Regions from separate parts of the Homo sapiens genome. Here all the other regions are linked to region 4. The links are contacts of gene promoters, found by promoter capture Hi-C in blood cells and fetal thymus (Javierre and others, 2016). All regions are on one chromosome and are shown on one strand. The core of a region is centred on a gene start or on the middle of the fragment in contact, and the rest is flanking DNA. Distances in the headings are between cores, read along the strand shown.

Region 1 (3,128 bases), core at 343-2,842, 400 kb after region 4:
GGGTGCTACTGTAAATCTCTAGGGGCCCTGCCCACTCCAACATCCGGGGACTCAGGAGTGTCTCCAAGCAAACCCCTCACCCCTCCATTTCAAAGCCCTTGCCCTTAGCTGGGATGTAGCCACACCAGCCAAACCCTCAGCAGGACCCCACCCAGAGAGGAGTGGGAGAGGTGACCTGGTTTCCATGGCAACAGCCTCCCTCCCATCCCCAGCCCTGCCCACTTTGGGATGCTGCCTACTCGTGGCCTCTTCTCAGCTCCTCCTGGCCCCAGCCCTGCTCCTTCCCGTCCCCTCACCCCACTGCCACTCTCCCGCCATAGCCTGTAATTAATTTCAGTCGCTGCCAGGGCCCCCTTCGAGCCTGAGCCTGGCTCCAGCAGCAGCTTCATCATTAATTAACTTTTTTGAAGTTCGAACATTCTAATTACCAAAGAACATCCCCCATCCCCCTCGCCTTTCCCCTCTTCCTGTCGTGCGCTCTCTCCTTCCAGCCCCATCCTCTGCTCCCTCTGCCCCTCCTGCCAGTTTCAGGCTCAAAGTGCACTTAGTGGCGTCTCCCAGGAGCCCGGTGCCCCTGCTGCCTCCTCAACAAGGCCCTGAGCAGTGGAGGTCAGCAGGCCCATTTTACAGATAAGGAAGGCTGAGACATGGGGAAATCAGGGGCCTCTCCTGGGTTTCACAGCTAGGAATTACTGGCACAGAGATTCACACCAGGCCTGCTGGACTCCAAGGCCAGCGCTCTCCTCTGTGAAGTACGGCCTGTCTCTGCCCATGGCTCTCCTCCCTCCCCTGAGGCCTCTCAGCCCATCTTCAGTGTGTCTCCCCAGGACCCTGACCCAGCATCCTCGGTATCCCCCAGCTCTGGTCTCTGCCCCTCCAATCTGCCCCACACGATAACCAGGCACTTGCTGTGTGCCCAACACAACTTGAACATTTTCCAAATGTTATCTCATTTAATCCTCACAGCTCTTTTATAAGCCCCATTTACAAATAAGGAAACCAAGACACAAAAGGGAAACAGATTGGCCCAAGGTCACCAGCTGGAAAAGAGCAGAGCTGAGACACAAAACCTCAGGCTGGAGGCTTTTCCTGCCTCCAAGCTGTTTTGCCACTGCCAGGCTAATCTGCCTGAAACACACTCTCCAGATGCCTCTCTCCTGCTCAAGAACCTCCCATGGCTCCCCATCACCCTCCCAAGCCTGGTACGCAAGGTAGACTCTCGCCTCAGTGAATCCTTGCAGTCTTATCACTCACTGGCCTCAGCACTCGCTTTCTCCAAACACGCCTTCTGCCTACACTTTCCCTTTCCTCCACCTCTCCAGCAGGCAGACTGTTTCAGAGCCCAGTTCGCAGGTCACCTCTTCTTGAAGCTTCCCCGGATGTGCCTCTTGCCCCTCACAAGGTGGTGGCTCAGCCTCCTCTCCAGAAGCACTCCCACCTGCCCTGGCTAGCACGTACCACAGTGATGAATTTGGCAGTACCTCTGACGACTGTGTACCAGACACCCTAGGGACATGACCTCAGCTCTCACAATCCCCTGGGGATGGAAAAGGAACAAGCCTGGAGAGCTGACACCACTCACACAAGGTCACCCAGTCCCCGAGCAGCCCAGATTGTCTGATTCACAGCAGTGCTGGTGGCCGCTGCACAGCACTGCCTCTGTGGCCCATCTAACTCGCCCACTGCACTGGGTCCCCGCAGGAGGCAGATGGAGTGGCTTTCATCCCTGGGCTGCTCAGCTTCAGAAATTCAGCAATGGATGGTCTCAGCCCTTGCCCAGAGGTGCCCGGGGAAATCCCAGATGGCAAAGCTTGGGCCCCTTCCAAGAGCCCAGGAGGCTTAGAAGTCAGGCCAGAACTGGCATCACTGCCCGCGGTTCCTGACACACTCCCCACTGGCTCAGGGATCAAAAGCACCAGCCCTCCTTGAAGTTAAACCAGACAGTGCAGTGTGGGGTAGGAGGGTGGCGGGGGGAGTCAAGGTCTCCGGCTTGAGCCACTCTGCAGCCTGGCCTGACGCCTCATGCTTCCACCATGAGTCACAAGTGTTGAGGAACTCTCTGAGAACACAGGCAAGCGAAGCCGTGAGGTTCGGGGACAACCTGAGGGAAGCTGGAGACCCAAGGGGGAGCACAGGATTTCTGGGTGACAGAGGGGGCAGGGCTGGAGTGCTAGTGCCACGACGGCAGGACGTCTTCAATGGCTCCCAACTGCCTCTCACAGCGAGGCTTGAAGCCCTGCGACGGGCATCCAAGGCCCAGCTGCCTCGCCTACTTCACCCCTCAGGCCCTCACTGCAGTCGGGGTGACCTTTGCCACAGAGCAGCCCTGCCAGCGTCGTTAGAGAGCAACGGCTCCAATCCCTCATTGCACTGATGGAAAACAGGGGCAGAAATCTGTCCCAGCTCCACAGCAAGCCCAGAGCTGAAGTGACACTTAGACAACAGACTCACCACCCACGGGGGTCCCCAAGCCACAGTCGATTTTTCAAACTCACACGGAAACCCTCCGCGTTTCCCCACACACTCGGCACAGCCACAGTACCATCACTTTAAGCTGGTTAGATCCCTGACGGGCAGCCCTGAGCGCCTTTGAGGAACACAGATGGAGAAACAGATCAATGGTGATGCAATCAATCGAGTTTCCTTGGCAGGCAAAGCCGTCCCAAGCACACAGGCCTCGGGGAGAAAATCACTCAGGGTCTTTGGGTGCTGCTGCAGAGCCCCCCAGCGCCTCAGCACAGCCTGGGCCCTCAGCCCCACTTCCTACCCACGTCCCCGCACCACACCTCTCAAAGTCTTCAGAACTGGGGTCTCAGAGCTGAGCAGGGGGAATGAATGTGCTTATATTGTGTGCCTGTTGTGTGCCAGGCGCCAGCCTGCCGGTGGTAATAATGGTGACAATCGCGAACACTTCTTCAGTGCCCCTGAGTGTCTGTTTGCCAAGGAGCCTCCAAATCAAACAGCATGCATGGCCAAGCGCGGTGGCTTATGCCTGTGATCCCAGCACTTTGGGGGGCCAAGGCGGGCAGATCACCTGAGGTCAGGAGTTCAAGACCAGCCCGGCCAACACAGTGAAACCCTGTCTCTACTAAAAATACAAAAAATTAGCTGGGCATGGTGGCAGGCGC
Region 2 (2,951 bases), core at 405-2,904, 350 kb after region 4:
CTTCCAGTCTGAGGCTGCTCCTTGGACTCAGGTCATGCAAAGAATGTAGCCCAGAGACACGAGGCAGAGAAACAGGAGCAGAGCATCGGTGGGGAAGTAAGTGCCCACACATGAGAAATGACAGCAATCGAAGGTGTTGGATGCTCCCGACAGCCGCCCCTGATGAGCCCCTTCAATCATCTGCTGCCCGGTGGTGCTGAGAAACAGCCCTTCCTGCTCCCTCATCCCGGCTGTCCTGGCTCTGAGGGGCTCCCTAGGGACTCCCAAAGACCCTCCCTCCTCAGGTCCCCTGGTCCATGGGTTCTGAGCACACCTAGGAGCCCAGGCTCCCTGACACTTACTATGATAAGCAGGATGAAGTAGATGAAGTTGTAGAAGGAGTGAGCATCCATCACGTAGTACATGATCTCCACCCAGCCTTCCAGAGTGATCACCTGCAGCGCGCAGAGGAGAGAGAGCCGAGAGGACTGGCCCATCAGAAAGCCCGTAGCCCAGGCAGTGCCCCAGACAGAGGCCCCACTGTGTGCCAGAACGCATCACACATGCTGCCTCGAGTCTGTCTCACAGGGGCTGGACAAGGCACATCACATTATACAGGTGAGGAAACTGAGGCTCAGTGAGGGGAAAGCACTTGCCCACTGTCACACAGCCAGGAAGGGGACGTGCCAGGACTTGAACCTTGGTCCCTCCAGTCTACCACACCAGCGGGAGGGCTGGAAAAGCAGGGAGCCTGCCCCTGCTCCAGCTTATCAGCTGGGCCACCCACCCTCTTTGAGTCTCAGCCGCTTCTTCTGTATGTGGGGAGCCCACCTGGCAGAGCTGGGGTGCAGCTCGGTGGAGCCTGGGAGTGCACACCGCAATGAGGCTGGTGTGACTTTGTCACCCCCCACCCCACCCCAACTCCTTCCCAGACTGGGGGATGGAGCAGCCTTGAGAAAGACAAACCCTGGGTCCTTGTTGGCTTCTGGCAAATGCACAGAGTGGGACCCCCTGAGCGGCCACCCACCCTCCTGGGCAGAGGGTTCCAAAACACAGCTGTTGCCGTCACCTCACACCCTGCATCTCTGAACAAATGACCCTGATGCTCCCCAGGGCAAAGTGCCCAGGGCAGCAGAGGGCAGCACAGGGCAGCAGAGGCAGCGCAGGGCAGCGGAGGCAGCAGAGTTCAGCCCTCCCGCTGCCCCCTCAGGGACTTCTCAGCTCCCCCTCTGTCTGCTCCTGCCCCTTCTTTCTGAGGACAGCAGAAAGGTAACCTCTACCCAGCACTCTGTACACAGGGCTGGCTGCCCTGAGCGTGCCATCTGCTTTATTCTTAACAATGACCCAAGGTGAGGGGGGCTGTTATTACCCCATTTTAAAGATGGGAAAACTGAGGCACAGAGAGGCCAAGCAATACTGGCCAAGGTCCACTGCCCTAGTTCTTTCCCTACACATATCCCAGCCCATCCTCTGCAGAGTATAGGCTGACAGTCAGTGCAGTGGGGCCACGCAACAAGCCCTTTGCACGCCATGAGGCTAGTGCTGCTTTGTGAACCTGTGTGCATTATGTGCACTGGGTGACAAGGCGAGACACATTTCTTTCTGACTCCAGATGAGCTACTTGGCACTCCCTGTACCAGAATTTTGCTCAGGCTGTCCCCACCAGGAATGTCCTCCTACCCCATGATCCTGGCCTTGGTCAGCCAATCCCTCCAACAGAGCTTGAATCCTGCCTCTCCTCTCTGAACAGCCCTCCCTGCTGGGATCCATAGGGCCCAAGGCAGCCTGAGGCTCTGCAAAGAGCTCAGGCTTTGGGGACACCCAGAGCTGGGTTAAGAGCCTATTTTTGCCATTTAATAGTCACATCATCTGTGGTCAATTAGCTTGCTTCCTTTCTTTGAACCTTGGGTTCTCTGTCTATAAAATGGGCATGATAATGCCTATTCTGCCAGCAAGCTGGGCAGGTTTCAGTGAGATGAGGGCTGGCAAATGCCTAGCACAGAGCCCTGCCCACCAGGCAGAGCTGCCCACTCTAGGACCAGGCTGGCCCCAGGCCTGAATGGCCTCACCTGGAAGATGACAATCCAAGCATAACCGATGTTGTCAAAGTTGATGGCACCCTTGTGGGGGTTGGCGCTGCCCGTGCGGCACACATTGTAGTAACGGTTCCAGTTGACACAGAGGCCGCTGGCATTGAGGTCCTGGCGCCCCGCCCCAAAGTCGTAGACGTCGTCCTTGGACAGGCAGCACTCACGGCCCTGCTCCTTGAGCGGGGGGATCTCATGGCAGCCCATTATCCCATTGTCGCCCGACAGGGAGCAGATGAAGGGCATCTCATCATCCTCCTCCGGCTGGTAGTATGGGGGCAAGGCCACATCCCCTTGTCTGTCCACAGGCGAGGGTGGGTAAAAGAGGGAAAGGGGAGGGGTCACTGTCAGGAGGATCAGGAAGGGAGAGGCCATGCAGCATAGCAGGATGGCCTTGTCACTGCCTCCAGGCCTTGGCACATGCTGTTCCCCTGCCTTGGTCACCCTTCCCCACCTCTGTTATGGCCATGAAAACCCCCACTGGCCCACTGTGGTCCCCTTCTCTGGGGAGCCTCACTGTGCCTTGCACACACCTTCATTATGGCTCCTGGGGGAGATGCCCTCAACTCCCTCGGGAGTCTGGACATCTCAGCATCCCCAGGCCACACACACTGTTGGGTTCGCACAGACAGAGCAGGTGGTCAGTAAACAAGCACTGGCTTTTACCGATCTAGCAGATGACAGGTAGATCCTCCATCTGCTCCACCCACTTCCATGTAAGTGATCCTGGGCTGATCACTTCCTCTCTCTAGACTTCGTTTCTTTTTTTTCTTTTTTAGACCGAGTCTCACTCTGTCACCCAGGCTGGAGTGCAGTGGTGAGATCTTGGCTCACTGCAACCTCCACCTCCTGGGTTCAAGCAATTCTCCTGTCTCAGCCTCCTGA
Region 3 (3,012 bases), core at 168-2,667, 320 kb after region 4:
TGTGGCCATCTTCAACAGCTTCAGCACTGCGGGCGAGACCCAGCCCTGCCCACTCAGCCCCAGGCCGGTGGGGACGTGTGTGTGCACGCATGTGTGCACGTGTGTAAACTTGGGAGAAGAGAACATGAAGGCACGTGCAAGCAGAGTCTGGCTCTCAGATACCACATTACAAGAATGTGGGTGCAGCCACAGGGTGAGTGGGGCATGCACAAAAACATGTGGACACAAGGCGTGGGTGTCACTGTAGAAAAGCCCCCGAGGACGGGGCATACTCATGGAAACTGAGGTCTATGAAGTGTGTGAATGGGTGGGCCATGAACTGTCACGGGCACAAAGGACCAGCGTGAGTGGCCACATCTCTTCTCTTCCCCTCTCGATAAAGAGGACTCTGGCATCACTCGCTGAGTTTCTGGCAGGCAGAAGAGCAAGAGGCACCTGGGCTCGCCCTGAGGCAGGAGGCTTTTAAAAGAAGTGTACGAACTACCTTGAGGGGAGGGAGAAGGATCTCTGAAGACCGTGCGTCCCAGTCACTGTGTTTGAGAAATGCCAGCGAGGAACTGGAGGTGTTTCACATCTTCCCAGTTGGACTGGGTTCCTTGCATCACACTCTGAGACTGGACCCCATGGGTCATGGCGTCATAAGGAAGTGGGAGTGTGTGTCCATGTGTGCTATGCAAAGTTGCCTGTGTGTTGGGGGAGGTGTGTGCACACAGAGGGTGCATGCGTGTGTGTTGGCTGTGTGCCTCCCAGCTCCTTCTCACCCCTGTTCAGCAAGGAGCCCACCATGCCTGCAAACTCCTGCCCCCACCCCTCCCCACCCCACTCCTGTGTGTTCTCATCAGGCAATGAGGAGTCTCATCCCGCCCCTGCTTGTCCCCGTTCCCTGTCCCACCCCTTGCCCCTCACCTCGGGCAATGCGCAGAACCCTCATGATGCGGATGATGGTGGGATTGATGGGCAGGGCCGCATTGATCTCGATCTCCTCCAGGGTGATGCCCATGACTGACAGTAGCACAATGGCCAGGTCCAGCTGGTTCCATCTGCTCAGCCGTGCATGGGAGGGCAGGAGTGGGCATGAGGAGGATCCCTCTGGTTCAGACACACCTTAGTGGGGGGAGCCTCCCAGGTCCTGACCCTTCTATTGTGGCCCATTAGGCTGTGTGGCTGCCCTCCCTTACTAGCCCCTCCTAACGCCACTGGGTCCAGGCCCCTCTCTGCTCCCCATAGCCATCACTCCGTCAAGCAAGGGGCTGATCAGGCTAAATAAATATCTCTGGCCTCCTGCAGGAGAGGAGGCATGGACTATGACTTCCAAGTCTAATCTTGAGCTGGCTGCTCTCTCTGTCTGGCCTTAGGCTAGTCCATCAACTTCTTTGAGCCTCACTATTCCCTTCAAAAAGGAGTATTAGCATGAGGCAGACCCTGCTCTGCCCATAGGGTAGAGACAACGTACCAAAGATGAGCCAAGAAGGGCCAGGTAGAATGCCCTACGCCCATCAGATGATACCATAATTATTTCCTGTTCAGAGCTATAAGCAGCAGCTGGGGTGCCTGTCCATCCGTGCCTAGATGCTTACTGGTTCCCCTCTTCAGGCTGCTCCAGACTTCCCTAAGGGTCAGGACTGCTTCTTCATCCTGCAGTCTACCCTATTACTGCCCTAATCCAGCCTGGCCACTCACCGGTCCTTGAAGAAGCGCCTCAGACCAAATGCCACCAGCTTCAGCACAGCCTCCAGCACAAAGACAGTGGTGAACATATAGTTGCAGTACTTGAGGGCTGTCTCCAGGGACTATGGAGGAACAAAGAGAAGCATGATCCAGGGCACATGACCTGCTCCACAACCTTCCTCCACTCAGAAAGTCTCTGCCTTTTAAGGAGAGAATTTAGTCCATTTACTTTTAGTGTAATTATTTATATGCTGCTTTTATTCTTTCCATCTTAGTGTGTACTATTTATTTTATGCTGCTATTCCTTCTGTTCCCTTTTTCTTATTTATGTGTATCTGGTCGAGTTGGTACCTTTGGAGGCAATATAGGGTATTAATGAAGAGCTACTGAGCCAGACTGCCTACATTTGAATCCTGGCTTAGTGCTCACTCCATATTCACCTTATGATCTTGAGTAAGTCATTTCATCTTAGAAAGCTGGTATGCAAATTAAATGAGCTGATAGTTCGGTGCTGGAAACAGAATAATACTTGGTAAATGTAAGCTATTAATATTCCATTTTTCCTGTTAATTTGGAAGTTGTATAATTATTGTTTCATTCTGCCAATGGTTATCTTTCTTTTTTCTGCATTCATAATATTCCTCTCCCATCATTTGAAATAAGGTATTAATTTCACACCTGGCGGCTCTGCTTCCCTCTTCTTCCCCTCCAACTCCATCAGGGTTTTTAGAATGCACTTGCTCCTCACATGCCCCTCACATACCTGGTCTGCAACAAGCTGGGAAATGGTCATCCTCACCCACCCCCAGTGTTTGCCTGAAATGGTCCTTCCACCCTTTTGCCTCGTCTCCATATACCCAGGTAGTAAAGGAGGCTACATGGTAGGCTTTGAATGCAAATCTAAGTTCCAGACCTGGTTCCACTACCTATGGCTGAGTAATTTGGGCAGCATATTTAACCTCTCTAAGCCTCAGGCTCTTCACCTATAAAATCCAGACAAAGGATTCCCCCTGCCAGCCTTAGGATTGCTGCGAGGATTAAAGAGTTCATATATGTAGCGTGCCTTGCAAAGAGTCAATATTTAACACATCACAGTCATTGCCACCCATGTGCAAGCCACGGTCCAAATCCTGCCTCCCTGACCCACCTTCCCTCTGACCGTTCCCTTCCAGACTCTGAGCTTCCTGAGGGCAAGCTTGTCCGGCACCTCCTCCCACTGCAGTGCCCAGCATAGAGCCCAGCATGGAGGGGCTGCTCACATCCTGCTATCAGCTAACCCCTTCCCCACCCTATCCCTGGGGTGGGGTCCTGCTGAGACCCCACCCTCACCTTGTAACCTTGGGC
Region 4 (2,861 bases), core at 145-2,644:
TCCTACATTTGATCTGGAAGCTGCCCAGGACTCCCACCCAAAGGCATAAAGATTAAAGTCTTCCACCTGTTCCACAGTGGACTGGCCTCACCAGCCACCCTGGAAACAGCCCCTCCTTCCAACTCTCAAGCAGGACACATATGCTAAGTAGGAGCCCTTTCCTGAGCTGCCGAGTCAGGTGACCTGCTGTGCCAAGGCGCCCAGCACAGGGCCAGGCACACAGTAGGTCCTCAATATACCCCGTCCCCCATTCATTCCAGGCAGCTGGGGCCTAGTACCCGGCCCAGGAGAGGCTGTGACTGTGAGGGCGCCAGCTCAGCTTTGACTATGGGAGGAGAGGGGTGGTCCAAGGAGCAGCATGGCAGAGGTGGGACCGGGAAGGTCACCGCCACCCACTCCCTGAAGTTGTTTTGACGATCACATGAGAAAGCGGCTCGGGATATGTTCTGGGCAGCACGTAGGTTATCATCAAGACCTTTGAGTGGTGCATTTTAACCACAGGGCCTCGGCCCCCAGTCTTCCCTGGGGAGGAAGGCTGGACAGGGAAGTTTCAGAAGTACAGAGCAGAGCCAGTGCCTCTGAACGCTGGAATACCGACGGCTGACATCTGTCCAGCACCTTGTAATTTGCCAAACACGTTCCCAGCCATTCGCTCTACAGGCCTCACTGCAGCCCCAGGAAGTAGGGGCGGGTTGGGGCCCATTTTCCAGAGGGTGCTCAGGGCGGCCTGCCCCGGGCCCTGCCTGGGAGGTGGGGCCCGGTCCAGGGGACTGGGGCCGAGGTCCCAGCGGTGTGGGGGCGAAGGCGGGGGCCTACCTTCTGGGCCTGTTGGATCATCTGCCTGACCACCTGCTTGAGGTGCGGCGCCTTCTCGTCCTTGGGCGGGTGGGTGAAGAGCGTGACCCGGCTCACGCCGCGGTAGAAACCAGTGTCCGTCCAGCCCAGGTCCAGAGGAGGCACCTCGGTGTCGGAACGGTCGGGCCAGTAGGCCAGGGACTCGCCGGACTCAGCCGGCGCCGGCGCGGGGGCCTTGGCCTTGGCCTTGCTCTTGCCCCGGGCGTTGGCGGCGGGGACGGCGTCCTCGTAGGGGCTCCAGGCGGCCCGCAGGGCCTGGCGCTCCGGGCTGGAGAGGAAGTCCCGCAGCTGCTCCTCCTTGAGCCGCTCGCGGTAGGCCTGCTCGCCGCCGCCCAGCAGCGCCTCCAGCGCGGCCCGCCGCCGCTCGCAGTAGTAGAAGGCGGCCTGCGCCTCGGTCACCTTCTCGTTCACGTGCGCCTCGTCCAGGCAGTTCAGCTGGGACTCGGCCATGGCGCCCCGGCCCCGGCCCCGGCCCTGGCCCCGGCCCCGCCGCGGTCCGAGGTCCCACAGCCGCACCTGGAGCCGCCGAGGGGCGGGGCGCCTCACCTGGCCGCGAGCTCTGCCCCGGCCCGTCCCGCCCCGCCCCGCCGTCGGGGAGCGGCCAATCCGCGCGGGCGTGGCCGTCGGGCGGGGAGGGGCCGCCGCCTCCGCCGGGCTCGCCGGGACCTCCGGGCGGCCTGGCGGACGCGGTCGGGCCCGGGCCTGCAGGGCCCACCAGCCGGGGCTAGAGTCCCTGAGGGGACGCCCCCAGGGGGCGGGGCCGTCGCAGACCCACGTGCGGGCTCCGGCCCCGACTCCTCCGCGGGGTAAAGGTTCGCTGTCCGGCCCTCGCTGCCATCCGCCCCCGCCGGCCGCGTCGCGGGTACGAGTTCATTTTCCGCGCACGTGGAGTCCGGAGCACGTGTTCTGGCCCAGTGGCCTCTGGGGCCGCCGAGCTGACCCCTTCCCCGTCGAGGGTCCGGTGTTGGTGGGGGGGCCTGCTGCAGGACGGGATTGTGACGGCTGAGGAGCGGGCAGGGGGTGTGCAAAAGCGAAATGCTAATGAGAGCTCGAGCTCCCCACCCTTGCGTCCCAGTTCTGAGATCAGAGCCCTTCTGGGCTGGGAGTCCAACACCTTCACTGTAAAACTTTCTTTTAAAAAATAGCTATCCAAACAGAAATGATGTAAAGAGCAGCAGTGGAATTCCCCCCGCCCCCACCTTAATTTGAAGTAGGGTGTGTGGTGTCTCTCCGTGTGTGTTTGGGCAAGATAGGCTGCCAGAGACATGATTACTATATTAGTGATTCAAAATGTATGTTTGAGCTCAAGGAAGGAAACCGCACGTGCGTGCACACCACACACACGCACACACACAGCAGCGGTGGCAGCAGCTCTGCTGTTTCCCATCGGATTAAATACAATCGTCTTAGTCATTAACATATTATGTTGTTCATGCACTGCTCTACAATTTGATTCTCCACATTCAAAATATTTTCAGATCATAACAACTAAAGGTTCACATTTCTCTCACTTTATAGCGCAGCATCTCAGAGCTGGAAGGAGCTTTTCAAGCTCCTCCAACCCCCTCATTTTACAGTTGAAGAAATTGAGGCCTAGCAACGTGTGCGTTGCCCAGGTCTCCCGTGAAAGAGGCAGAGCACGGGGACTGCAAGGTTTTCTGTCTTGGAGGTCTTTCGCTGACATCACGGCCGCCTTTACCCTTTCTCCTTTTCTTGTGAAACGACAGGTTATTGGGGACCTGGTTTTCACCCCAGGGGATTTGAAAAGGTCACTTACCATTTCTAGGCCTTCCTTTCATGCTCTGGAAAAAATGAGAGTTAGATTTTCAAATGTCTGCACATTATTGTTATTATTATTTTTTTTTTTACAATAATCAGTTCTGGCATCCTGTGTCAGCCCAAAGATTGGGAGTGGTGAGCAGCAAGGTGTCCATCACCTCACTTGTCCTTTACCCCTCTTGGGAACTGGAAAGCTTCACTCCTGGTAATGCTCCACTCTTAAGTAC
Region 5 (2,924 bases), core at 288-2,787, 390 kb after region 4:
ACCTCCGTCTGGCCTATAGGAGCTCTGCCCACCCTACCCTCAGTGATTGGCTTAGGGATGAGCACATGCCCCACACCAGCCAATCCAGGCCAAAGAGGCTCAGTTCCCAGGACTGATTGGAACTGCTAGGAAAGGAAAGGTGTGTCTGAACTGGAGGGAGTCGGCACTGAGCCCCGAGCTGCCTGCCACCACCCTGCCACCGTGAAAGCTCCAGGGAGGGAAGTCAGCACAGACTAGCAGAGCTGTGGGATAGGAGCACACACCATCTAGAGACATCTTTCAGGATTCTAGAGCAAGCGGGCCCTGAAGCTGGAGACCTCTTGGCTTTTCAGTAGAGGAAACAGTTGACTCCCTTAAACCAGATTCAGGGTTTCTGTCCCACGTAACAGAGATAGTCCTTCCCGATTCATGATTGACCCGTGTCAGGCACCTCAGCCTGTGGCCAGAGAATCTCTGGTGACTTCCCCCAACATCACACATGGCAGCTACCATCCTGTTTCCATGGAAACGAGCCTCCACAGTGACCATCACCCTCTCTCCCATCCCATCCCATATGCAAATGAGAAAAACACACTAAGGTTCCTATTGGAACCTTCCCCAGTCCACGCCCACCCAACGGCAGCTCAGCTTAAAGAAAATGGCTCCAGATATCCTCTCCCCAGCTCTTTCGTGCCTGGGTGCAACAGACAGGAAACAAACATGTAATGATGCCTCCACGGCTCTGGGGACTTCAGGATGATGACTAGCCTTGGTCCTGCCCTCAGAGCACCCAGTGCATCTGAGCATCCACAGCCGCAGGGCAGACAGACCTGTAAGTCCAGGATAGATCAGAGTGTAAAGTCAATGACAAAACCAGAAGGGTCCCCTGGGCTTCAAGACATTCGGAGGGCTTCCCTTACCCACCAATAGTGCACACAGAGTTGTGCAGGAAGGCCAGCTCCAAAGGCTTCTGGGCATCCAAGTGATTGCCTTCTGATTCCCATGACCACAGCAGGATCTGCTGACAGGCACTGGGCTCTGTGGAGCTTGCCTAGGTTGGTATTGACGTTAGAGATCTCAACAGAGCCCTGCCCCTGCCCAGTCAGCACAGGCAGAGCTCCAGAAGCTCTAACCAGGGCTTGGAGACATGGTAGAGCCACGGCTTTGGCAGAGGGTGGGTGAAGAAACTGAGGCTCAAGGAGAGGAATGTGGCTGACTCGGAGTGCCCCCATGATGGGCGTTCTCTCTCTTGTGATCTTGCCTGAACCCAAGGAACAACTCTTGTTTGATTTAGCCAAGTTCAATGATGCTTTCTGCTTTCCTAGCCTTGCTGCCACTCAGGTGTCCATCAGACCCAGTTCTGGCCAAATGCACTAGGGAAGGGAAGGATCCCGGAAAGAAAATCTCATTTTCCTGATCCAAGTGGACATGCCCTGTCACTCTTCACCCTTCTTTCCTGTCTTTAATTCAGACATGACACCCACGGCTTCACCGGCTGCCTTGTGACCATGAAAGAAAGGCCTGGAAAATCACAAGGATGTCAGCCCCCACACTGCAGAACTATCACCAGTAACCAGAACTTTGTGTTATGTCAGAAAAACACGGATTCAGGATTTGCCTGAGCCACAGTTGGTTGGGTTTTCTATTACTTGCAGCCAAATGCATCCCTGACAAATACACCCAGCAGTCACACTGAACCAGGACCCAATCCTGGTGGAGCTGGTGGAGCTAAGCTCCCTGGGTTCAACTCCTGACTCTGCCCCTTACCAGCCTGTGACCTCAGGCAAGTTACTCCTGTCACTGCCTCATCTGTGAGGTGGAACTGACCACAGCCCTCACAGGGCTTGTCTGACCATTCAACAGGATGATGCACGGTGTGAGCACTCAGCAGTCAGCGTCCTTATTCTTATCACACTCCTGGAGGCATCAGAGAATTAAATTACCTTTGCCTTTTGAAGTCCCACTGATGGGGCACTTTGGAAAAAAGGAACTCTCAGCCAGCAACCTCAGCAGGGACATACCTGCCTGATCTTTCTAGAAAGCCCTAGCCCAGAGCTGAGGAACAATTCTTAGTGGCTTTTTGTTTCCCAAGAGTCTGTAAGAGTCAGGGTGGAGAAGCTGTTCCCAGCATTCCAGAGACCATGTTTCCAGGGTACAATAAATTTTTTTTTTCTCTTTTCTTTTTTTTTGAGACAGGATCTCACTCTGTCACCCAGGCTGCAGTGTAGTGGCGCAATCTTGGCTCACTGCAACCTCCGCCTCCCAGCCTCAAGCAATCCTCCCACCTCAGCCTCCTGAGTAGCTGGGACTACAGACACACACATTTTTTTTTTTTTTAGCTGTGGTTTCACCATGTTGCCCAGGCTGGTCTCAACCTTCTGAGCTCAAGCGATCCATCCACCTCGGCCTGCCAAAGTGCTGGGATTACAGGCAAGAGCCACTGCACTCAGCCCAGGATACAAGTCCTAACCCAGCCTCTCCTTCTCACCCTCTAGCCAAGGTGCTAAGTTACTAATATTACTTTATTAATACTATTAATGATCATAGAAATTCTTTTTTAAAAAATGTTTTAAAGAAATGGGCTCTCGCTATGTTGCCCAGACCGATCTCTAACTCCTGGGCTCAAGATATCCTCCCACCTCAGCCTCCTGAGTAGCTGGAACAATTGACACACACCACTGGACTGGGTGATCACAGAAGTTCTTTTTTAGAGACTGAGACTCTGTCTCCCAGGCTGGAGTGTAGGAGTGCAATCTTGGCTCACTGCAACCTCTCTACCACCCGGTTCAAGCTATTCTCCTGCCGCCCAAACAGCTGGGACTACAGGTGTGCGCCACTGCGCCTGGCTAATTTTTGAATTTGTATTTGTATTTTTTTTTTTTTTTTTTTTTTGGAGATGGAGTTTCACTCTCATTGCCCAGGCTGGAGTGCAGTGGCACGATCTG
Region 6 (2,924 bases), core at 325-2,824, 420 kb after region 4:
TCTCTTATTAAAAATTCAAAATTAGCCCGGCATGGTGGTGCGCTTCTGTAATTCCAGCTACTCAGGAGGCTGAGGTGGGAGAATCACTTGAACCCAGGAGGCAGAGGTTGCAGTGAGCCAAGATCATGCCATTGCACTCCATCCTGGGTGACAGAGAGAGACTCTGTCTCAAAAAAAAAAAATGAAAGAAAAGAAAGAAAGGCTCTGAAAGTCTAATCTAGGGTGGAAAATAATAATAGGTTTCAGGCTGATGGCTCCCCATAGCTGCCAGAGGTGCCCTGCTGGAGAATGCCGGCAGGCTCGATTAGCAATGTCTGCACTGATGGGGGGCATGGCCACTAGCAGCAGAACAAGCTCAAATCCACCTAAGTTAACAGAGATTGGGTCTGATGTTCCTTGGAAACAATGTCCTCTGAAGGTGTTATGTTCTATCTAAAGACCTGTCCCCAATGTCTAATTGAATCTACAGCAAGCAGAGTGTTGACTCAGCAGTACGTGAGGGCCCTGTTCAGGGTTCAGGCACAGGTAATCAGAGTGATAACCACACATATGGTGGCTTTTCCAGTTCCCAAACTCCACTGTCACACTGTCCTGCTCTGTCCTCAGTGCAATCAACCCTGTGGAGTGGGTATTACCACCCGTGTTTGACAGGTGGGGAAACTGGGGCTCGGAAATGTTAAGAAACTGACCCATGGTCACACAGCAAGAGACAGAACCAGCCTCTGGGTCTGTGTGATTCAGGTGCCCAGCGCTTTCCACGGTGCCACACGCCACCTCCCCGTGATTCAAGTAGCACAATGTATCCCCTGACATTTCGAATCCAGAGGCCTTGCAGCTGCATCTGCAGCTGACAGCCCATGCCCACGGCCCAGGCCAGGCAGGGAGCGGTGCTGACATATGGGCGAGTGGCCCTTTCCCACCCCACCTTGCAGGCTCCACAAGGGTCCCAGCAGCCTGCTGGCTCTCCAGTGAGTCAGGCGGTGACTCAGGGCCTAGCTCCGGGCTGGAAGAGGAGCTGAGTCAGGGAGCACCAGGCTTCAAAGAGCAGCTGGCTCTGGGCCAGGGCCCCTCAGCACCAGGACATGAGCTCAGGACAGGCTGTCTGGGGGACCCTCCCATGCTGCCCTCCCCTTCCCGGGCCTGGCCATCATGACAGCAGCTCCCACCAGCCTGACTCTGATGCTACGCACCCACCACCCCTTTGGGTTCTCAGTGGGGGAAAGAGTCGCCCTTTGCAGGGTCTAGACATGTGAAAGGTCATTTATGGTAGTCACAATGATTGAAGGACACTACTACTATTGAATATGCAAGACAGACAAGACTACAAAGCACCGTCAACCCCCAAATGCCAATGGTGTCCCATTGAGGAGTACAAGCTTAAGCACTGCCCCAGGCCCCCTCCCACAGAGCACAAGAGGGAGTGAAGTTTCCAGCCAGGAAAGAATCCTAGAGGCTTCAGCCCCTGCCCCACCCACACACGCACCCCATCCCAAGCCCCTAAAGCCCACCCTGAGCTCCCCACGACTGAGTCTCTGCTCCAGGGGACAGCCCTATGGACAGCCACGTCTCCTGGGTCTCTGTTTGTGGAACCCTCCTTGGCCCCTCTCCCACCTGACCCAATTCAGCTATGAACTCTCAGGCCAGCAGCGGCTGCAGCCACCGGGTCCAGAATCCTCCAACTCGTAGGCACACAGCATCACAGCCACCAAGTCTTAGGCTCACACACTCTTTGAAACACAGAATTTTGCAGCCTTTGAATGACAGAAGCTTAGAATTTCAGTGTCGCTGAGCCTTAAATCTTAACTTTGAACCCTTAGACTGTCGCAGAAGTTTTCAGTCTGAGTGTCCCAGAGCTGACACCTTTAAAGTTGCTGTGCTTTTGAGTCGCCACATCTCTGGCCTGAAGAGAGTCCGTATCCCACCAGTTAAGGCCGAGACCTGAACCACCTCTATCCCAGTCCAGCCTCAGCAGCCCTGGCCATGGGGATGCCGGGGGAACCCTCGCTCTGCGCAGCTCCCGGGACTGAAAAGTCCCTCCTGATGGAGGGGGGCTGCTTTCTGCCCCACCCCTTGGACCCAGGGCTCTCTCCAAGACAGACAAGAGGCAGGCCCAGCTCCTCCCGAAACCAGTACTCCTCTCCCTCCTGGGCCAGCCCCACTGTTGTCTCCAACCCCAGGCCACAACCCACATGACCTGAGGATGGAGGTGAGAGGGGTGGTGAAAACCAAGGAGACAGTGGCCCCAAGGACTCTGTTTGCCCAACAGGCCAGAAATATGGAAAACTGGGTGGGTTCCCAGGGGCTGGCTCACTCAGTGGTCAGGCGTCAGGGTGCCTGAGATCAAGGCAGCCCCCATGGCGTGTGTGGCTAACACCCTGGGCTCCCAGGGCTGGAAGGGGTGATTCGTCTGCCGTCTCCTTTTTAGGTGGAGGTGCTGAGGCTCAGAGAGAGGAGACTGCCCAGGGTCACACACATGGCAGACAGGACTTGACCACCCCCATCTAGGGGCCTCTCCGTGACACGTGGGCAGCACCCCAGCCAGCCCAGCCAGAGCCCATCAGAGACGCAGCTGGGTCAGACTCCCAGGCCAAGTCCTCTGAGCCATGCCCCTGCCTCCAGCCCAGAGCAGTATTGCCCATCCAGACCCCCTAAGGTTCAAAGAAGCAAAGTGACTTACTCATGGTCACACAGCACCCAAGTGACAGAGCCAGAATCAACTCTTGTCATCTCACCCAGGAAAGGCCCCTGAGACATTGTGAAATTGTCCCCCTGGTCCTCCTACCAGCCTTTCTCTTCCTAAAGGCCCAAAATTCCTGCGGCCGCCCCCTTCTCAGGCCTGGCACTCCTCTGTTCACATGCCACAAGCCCCTGAGGTTTCCCCAGTGCTTTGTATTAAAACTAGCCACGTAGGCTGGGCACAGTGG
Region 7 (3,064 bases), core at 540-3,039, 490 kb after region 4:
GGTTTGTAAATGCTCAATAAATAATTACATTTAAGTATAAACTGCCACTGCCTTCCTTCAGTAACAATAAACCCTTACACAAGCATATCTGTAAAGTGCTTTGTTGCCCATGACCACATTTAAATTAAGAATCTAGAAGGTGGTCAGGGTTCTTAGTAACAGTAAATGCTTATTGCATTATATTGCACTATATACAACGTGCAATGTTCGAAGCATGTCTCACATAACAACTCATTCTGTCAGCTACCCTAGGGGTCAACATTACCCCATTTTAAGTGGAGGAAACAATCTCCCAGAGGGAAGTAACTTGCCCGCGGGCCCACAGCTGTCAAGGGGAGGGCTGCACTCCTGACCCCAACTCTGCCTGCCTCTGGAATGAGTTACCCTTTGCTGGAGCCGGACCGTGTGTACAGCACTTCTGGGTGCTCCACGAACTTTCCCAGCACAGCGCTTGGCACATACAAGGGGCTCAAAATTATGCGTAACGGAGAGAATTTCACAACGTCCCTATGTGGAAGAAATGATCACCTCCGTTTCAGAAATAAAGAAATGACACCAAGTGGGGGAAGTATTTGGCTGGAAAAAAAGATTGGACTTTGGGCCCAAAGTCCGCGAGCCCTTAGCCTCCGGCCTTGCTAACTTCCTGCGCAAGCTTGAGCAAGCCACCATCCCTGCCCATTTTTCCTCAACTGTTTAAGAGATCCCTCGGCCCTAAGGACCTCCCGATGCAGAAAATCAACAGAAGTGTTTGATGCTGTAAAAGGCGACTGTCACGGCGAGGGCTGTAACTACAAGGTCGCTGGGCGACTGGGCGGCTGAGCCCCAGCCAGTCTGCACTTCACCAACCGTGGGGGCCGGGCCGGGGTGCGGAGGCCCAGAGGCCAGGGCAGGCCTGCTTCGGGGCACTGGAGGTCTCCGAGGTTGGGGCGGGGCGGGGCAGCCGAGGGGTCTCCCAGGGGAAAGTCCAGGGCGGGATGGGGCGAGACCCCCGGCTGCATGCTGGTATCCTGACTCCGGGCCGCATGCGAGGCGCCGGCAGCAGCCTGAGAGGAGGCGCTGCAACCTCCCCGCCGCCCAGCCGCCGGCGGCCCTCATTCCTTCTCTCACTCACCCGCAGGCCGTGCGCGCTACCACTCCGCAGGACTCGCCTCTGGCCGGGTACCTCTCCCCGGGTCACCCATCAACATGGCCCCTTCACTTCCGGGACACGACCTTGCGCACGGAGCTGCGAAGGGGCTGAAGGGAGCACGAGGGCGAGTGGAGGCGGAGGGACTTCCGGTCTTCTCCAAGCTCTCTCTCGGGCCCCGCCCCCTGCGCATGATTCCGCCCCCCAATCCTGAGCCCCGCCTCCGTGTGTGACCTCACCAAGGGACTGGCCTGCAGAGGCCACTCGCGCCCCGCCCCCAGAGGACTCCGGTGTCCGGGTCCGGCTGTGGGTACCGGGGTGGTCCCGATGCTGGCAGAAGTTCAGAGGGCAGGAGGTAGCCTCGCTGTCCAACAAGGCTGCCGCACCGGGTAGGCCCCTCACCTGCTGGCAACCCCTTAGCCTGTCGGGGTACCTGGCCAGCCTCCTGTACTGTATATGCTGATCTCTGGCTGGGGCCCTGGGGTACCTGAGGGAATTCTAACACTAATATTCAGAGCTCCTCAAAACCCATTTTCTCAGATCGCCTTCTTTTCATCCCTCCATGCTGTTCCTACTCCCCAGGCCCCATGGCTTCTGGCAAACTCCTACCCTTCCTTCAAAGTCTACCTCAAATGCCCCCCTTCACTGGGAAATCTCTCCCAGCCCCTTCCTCGCCTCCCTCTAACACACTCACGTGCCTTCTTTGGGCCCCACGGAAATGTCTGCACATCTTACGCCTCATAATCTGTTCAACAACAAAACGTATTTCTTGGCGCCTACCATATGCCAGGCACTGTAATTTATCCATTTGCTTCTCTGTCTCTCACTAGATTTGAGGACGGAGGCCGTGTCTCTATGGAAGCTCCCTCCCCCAACTGCCTCCCTCCATGCCTGGCTCTGCCAAGCCCAGGGCCTGGGGCTTTGGAGTCCGGGGCCACCGGGGCCACCGCTGGCTCCTAGTTCCAGTTCCACCACTTAGGGACAGCTGCCCTCTGCCAAGTTTCCTAACCTCACCCAGCCTTGGGGCTGTGGTGAGGATTAAAAGGTAATATCTACCAGTAGAGGGGTGGGCAATTGCAGAATAGTCAGGCTATCTGATAAAAGGACGAGAACCAGGAGAAGAACATTGCAGGGAAGAGCATTTCAGGCCTCCCCCCAGGTAAGCCTTTAAGCTCAGCGTGGTCTAGGAGCCACAGGGAGAAAGCCAGTGCTTTCGCAGCTGAGTGAGCAGGAGCTGGGAAAGAGGCCAGAGGGGAGGCCCTTACCAGAACTGGGAGGGAGATGGCGGGTGCAAAGGAACCACAGCAGGGTTCAGAGCCAAGAAGTGCTGGGATCTGACTTCCCTTTCAATGGGATCTGTCTGGCTTGAGAATAACGGAATGGAACCAGGGCTGAGGCAGGGAGACCAATCAAGAGTCTGTTGCAGGGCTGGGCACGGTGGCTCACGTCTGTAATCCCAGCACTTTGGGAGGCTGAGGTGGGCGGATCTACTTGAGGTCAGGAGTTCGAGACCAGCCTGACCAACATGGTGAAACCCCATCTCTACTAAAAATACAAAAATTAGCCGGGAGTGGTGGCATTGTACCTGTAATCCCAGTTACTTGGGAGGCTGAGGCAGGAGAATTGCTTGAGCCTGGGAGGCAGAGGTTGCAGTGAGCCAAGATCACGCTACTGTACTCCAGCCTGGGCGACAGAACAAGACTCGGTCTCAAAAAAAAGAAAAAGAAAAGAAAAGAAAACCAAGATGGAGAGAGGCATAGTAGTTTCTAAGACACTGAGCTAAGAAGGAAAGAAGCTTTCAGTGGAAGCCAAGTCTGTCTTACTCTGAAATGTGTGTTCTTTCCACTCTTTCAGGCTGCCCTAATTTGCTTTTTAAAGAATTTTGTGACCCAAATAAATATAATTGGTGGCATTTCCATCGGCATACCAGATGACCTC

The links. Contacts are between HindIII fragments. The CHiCAGO score rates a contact against its expected background, and 5 or more counts as called.
Region 1: a contact is called between a fragment that was not itself captured here and the fragment with the promoter of FAM83F in region 4, in 10 of 17 cell types (M0 macrophages, endothelial precursors, activated CD4 T cells and 7 more). The highest score is 8.5, in M0 macrophages.
Region 2: a fragment that was not itself captured here is called in contact with the fragment with the promoter of FAM83F in region 4 in 13 of 17 cell types (M0 macrophages, M1 macrophages, M2 macrophages and 10 more); the score reaches 12.8 in M0 macrophages.
Region 3: a contact is called between a fragment that was not itself captured here and the fragment with the promoter of FAM83F in region 4, in 2 of 17 cell types (M0 macrophages and M1 macrophages). The highest score is 6.2, in M0 macrophages.
Region 5: a fragment that was not itself captured here is called in contact with the fragment with the promoter of FAM83F in region 4 in 10 of 17 cell types (activated CD4 T cells, M0 macrophages, M1 macrophages and 7 more); the score reaches 9.3 in activated CD4 T cells.
Region 6: a contact is called between a fragment that was not itself captured here and the fragment with the promoter of FAM83F in region 4, in 9 of 17 cell types (M0 macrophages, activated CD4 T cells, M1 macrophages and 6 more). The highest score is 9.0, in M0 macrophages.
Region 7: a fragment that was not itself captured here is called in contact with the fragment with the promoter of FAM83F in region 4 in 2 of 17 cell types (naive CD4 T cells and erythroblasts); the score reaches 5.8 in naive CD4 T cells.

What each region holds. Positions count from the first base shown.
Region 1 is chr22:39,591,702-39,594,829 of GRCh38, reverse strand. All of the region lies in intron 1 of CACNA1I (calcium voltage-gated channel subunit alpha1 I), which reads right to left. Among named protein-coding and RNA genes, the nearest start is that of CACNA1I, 23 kb to the right of the region's middle. RefSeq lists an enhancer at 2,113-3,022. The HindIII fragment of the contact is 440 bases long and covers 1,373-1,812 here.
Region 2 is chr22:39,640,280-39,643,230 of GRCh38, reverse strand. It overlaps CACNA1I (calcium voltage-gated channel subunit alpha1 I), which reads right to left. Exons shown (of 37, transcript NM_021096.4): 6 at 2,049-2,364; 7 at 342-434. Among named protein-coding and RNA genes, the nearest start is that of CACNA1I, 71 kb to the right of the region's middle. The HindIII fragment of the contact is 3,303 bases long and covers 3-2,951 here.
Region 3 is chr22:39,670,977-39,673,988 of GRCh38, reverse strand. CACNA1I (calcium voltage-gated channel subunit alpha1 I) reads right to left here. Exons shown (of 37, transcript NM_021096.4): 27 at 1,681-1,790; 28 at 907-1,040; 29 at 1-26. Among named protein-coding and RNA genes, the nearest start is that of CACNA1I, 100 kb to the right of the region's middle. The HindIII fragment of the contact is 2,897 bases long and covers 1-2,865 here.
Region 4 is chr22:39,993,487-39,996,347 of GRCh38, reverse strand. It overlaps FAM83F (family with sequence similarity 83 member F), which reads right to left and starts at 1,394. Exons shown (of 5, transcript NM_138435.4): 1 at 817-1,394. The coding sequence starts at 1,305. LOC124905155 reads right to left here. Exons shown (of 2, transcript XM_047441700.1): 2 at 1,580-2,000. The coding sequence ends at 1,580. RefSeq lists a silencer at 1,352-1,471 and an enhancer at 1,046-1,679. The HindIII fragment of the contact is 8,768 bases long and covers 1-2,830 here.
Region 5 is chr22:39,608,064-39,610,987 of GRCh38, reverse strand. The region is part of intron 3 of CACNA1I (calcium voltage-gated channel subunit alpha1 I); the gene reads right to left. Among named protein-coding and RNA genes, the nearest start is that of CACNA1I, 39 kb to the right of the region's middle. The HindIII fragment of the contact is 4,472 bases long and covers 1-2,924 here.
Region 6 is chr22:39,573,039-39,575,962 of GRCh38, reverse strand. All of the region lies in intron 1 of CACNA1I (calcium voltage-gated channel subunit alpha1 I), which reads right to left. Among named protein-coding and RNA genes, the nearest start is that of CACNA1I, 3.7 kb to the right of the region's middle. RefSeq lists an enhancer at 690-1,191. The HindIII fragment of the contact is 391 bases long and covers 1,379-1,769 here.
Region 7 is chr22:39,500,485-39,503,548 of GRCh38, reverse strand. MIEF1 (mitochondrial elongation factor 1) reads right to left here and starts at 1,259. Exons shown (of 6, transcript NM_019008.6): 1 at 1,112-1,259. LOC105373035 (a long non-coding RNA gene) reads left to right here and starts at 1,389. Exons shown (of 3, transcript XR_938263.4): 1 at 1,389-1,515; 2 at 1,957-2,285; 3 at 2,981-3,057. RefSeq lists a silencer at 861-970 and enhancers at 478-977, 1,071-1,120, 978-1,479. The HindIII fragment of the contact is 2,269 bases long and covers 655-2,923 here.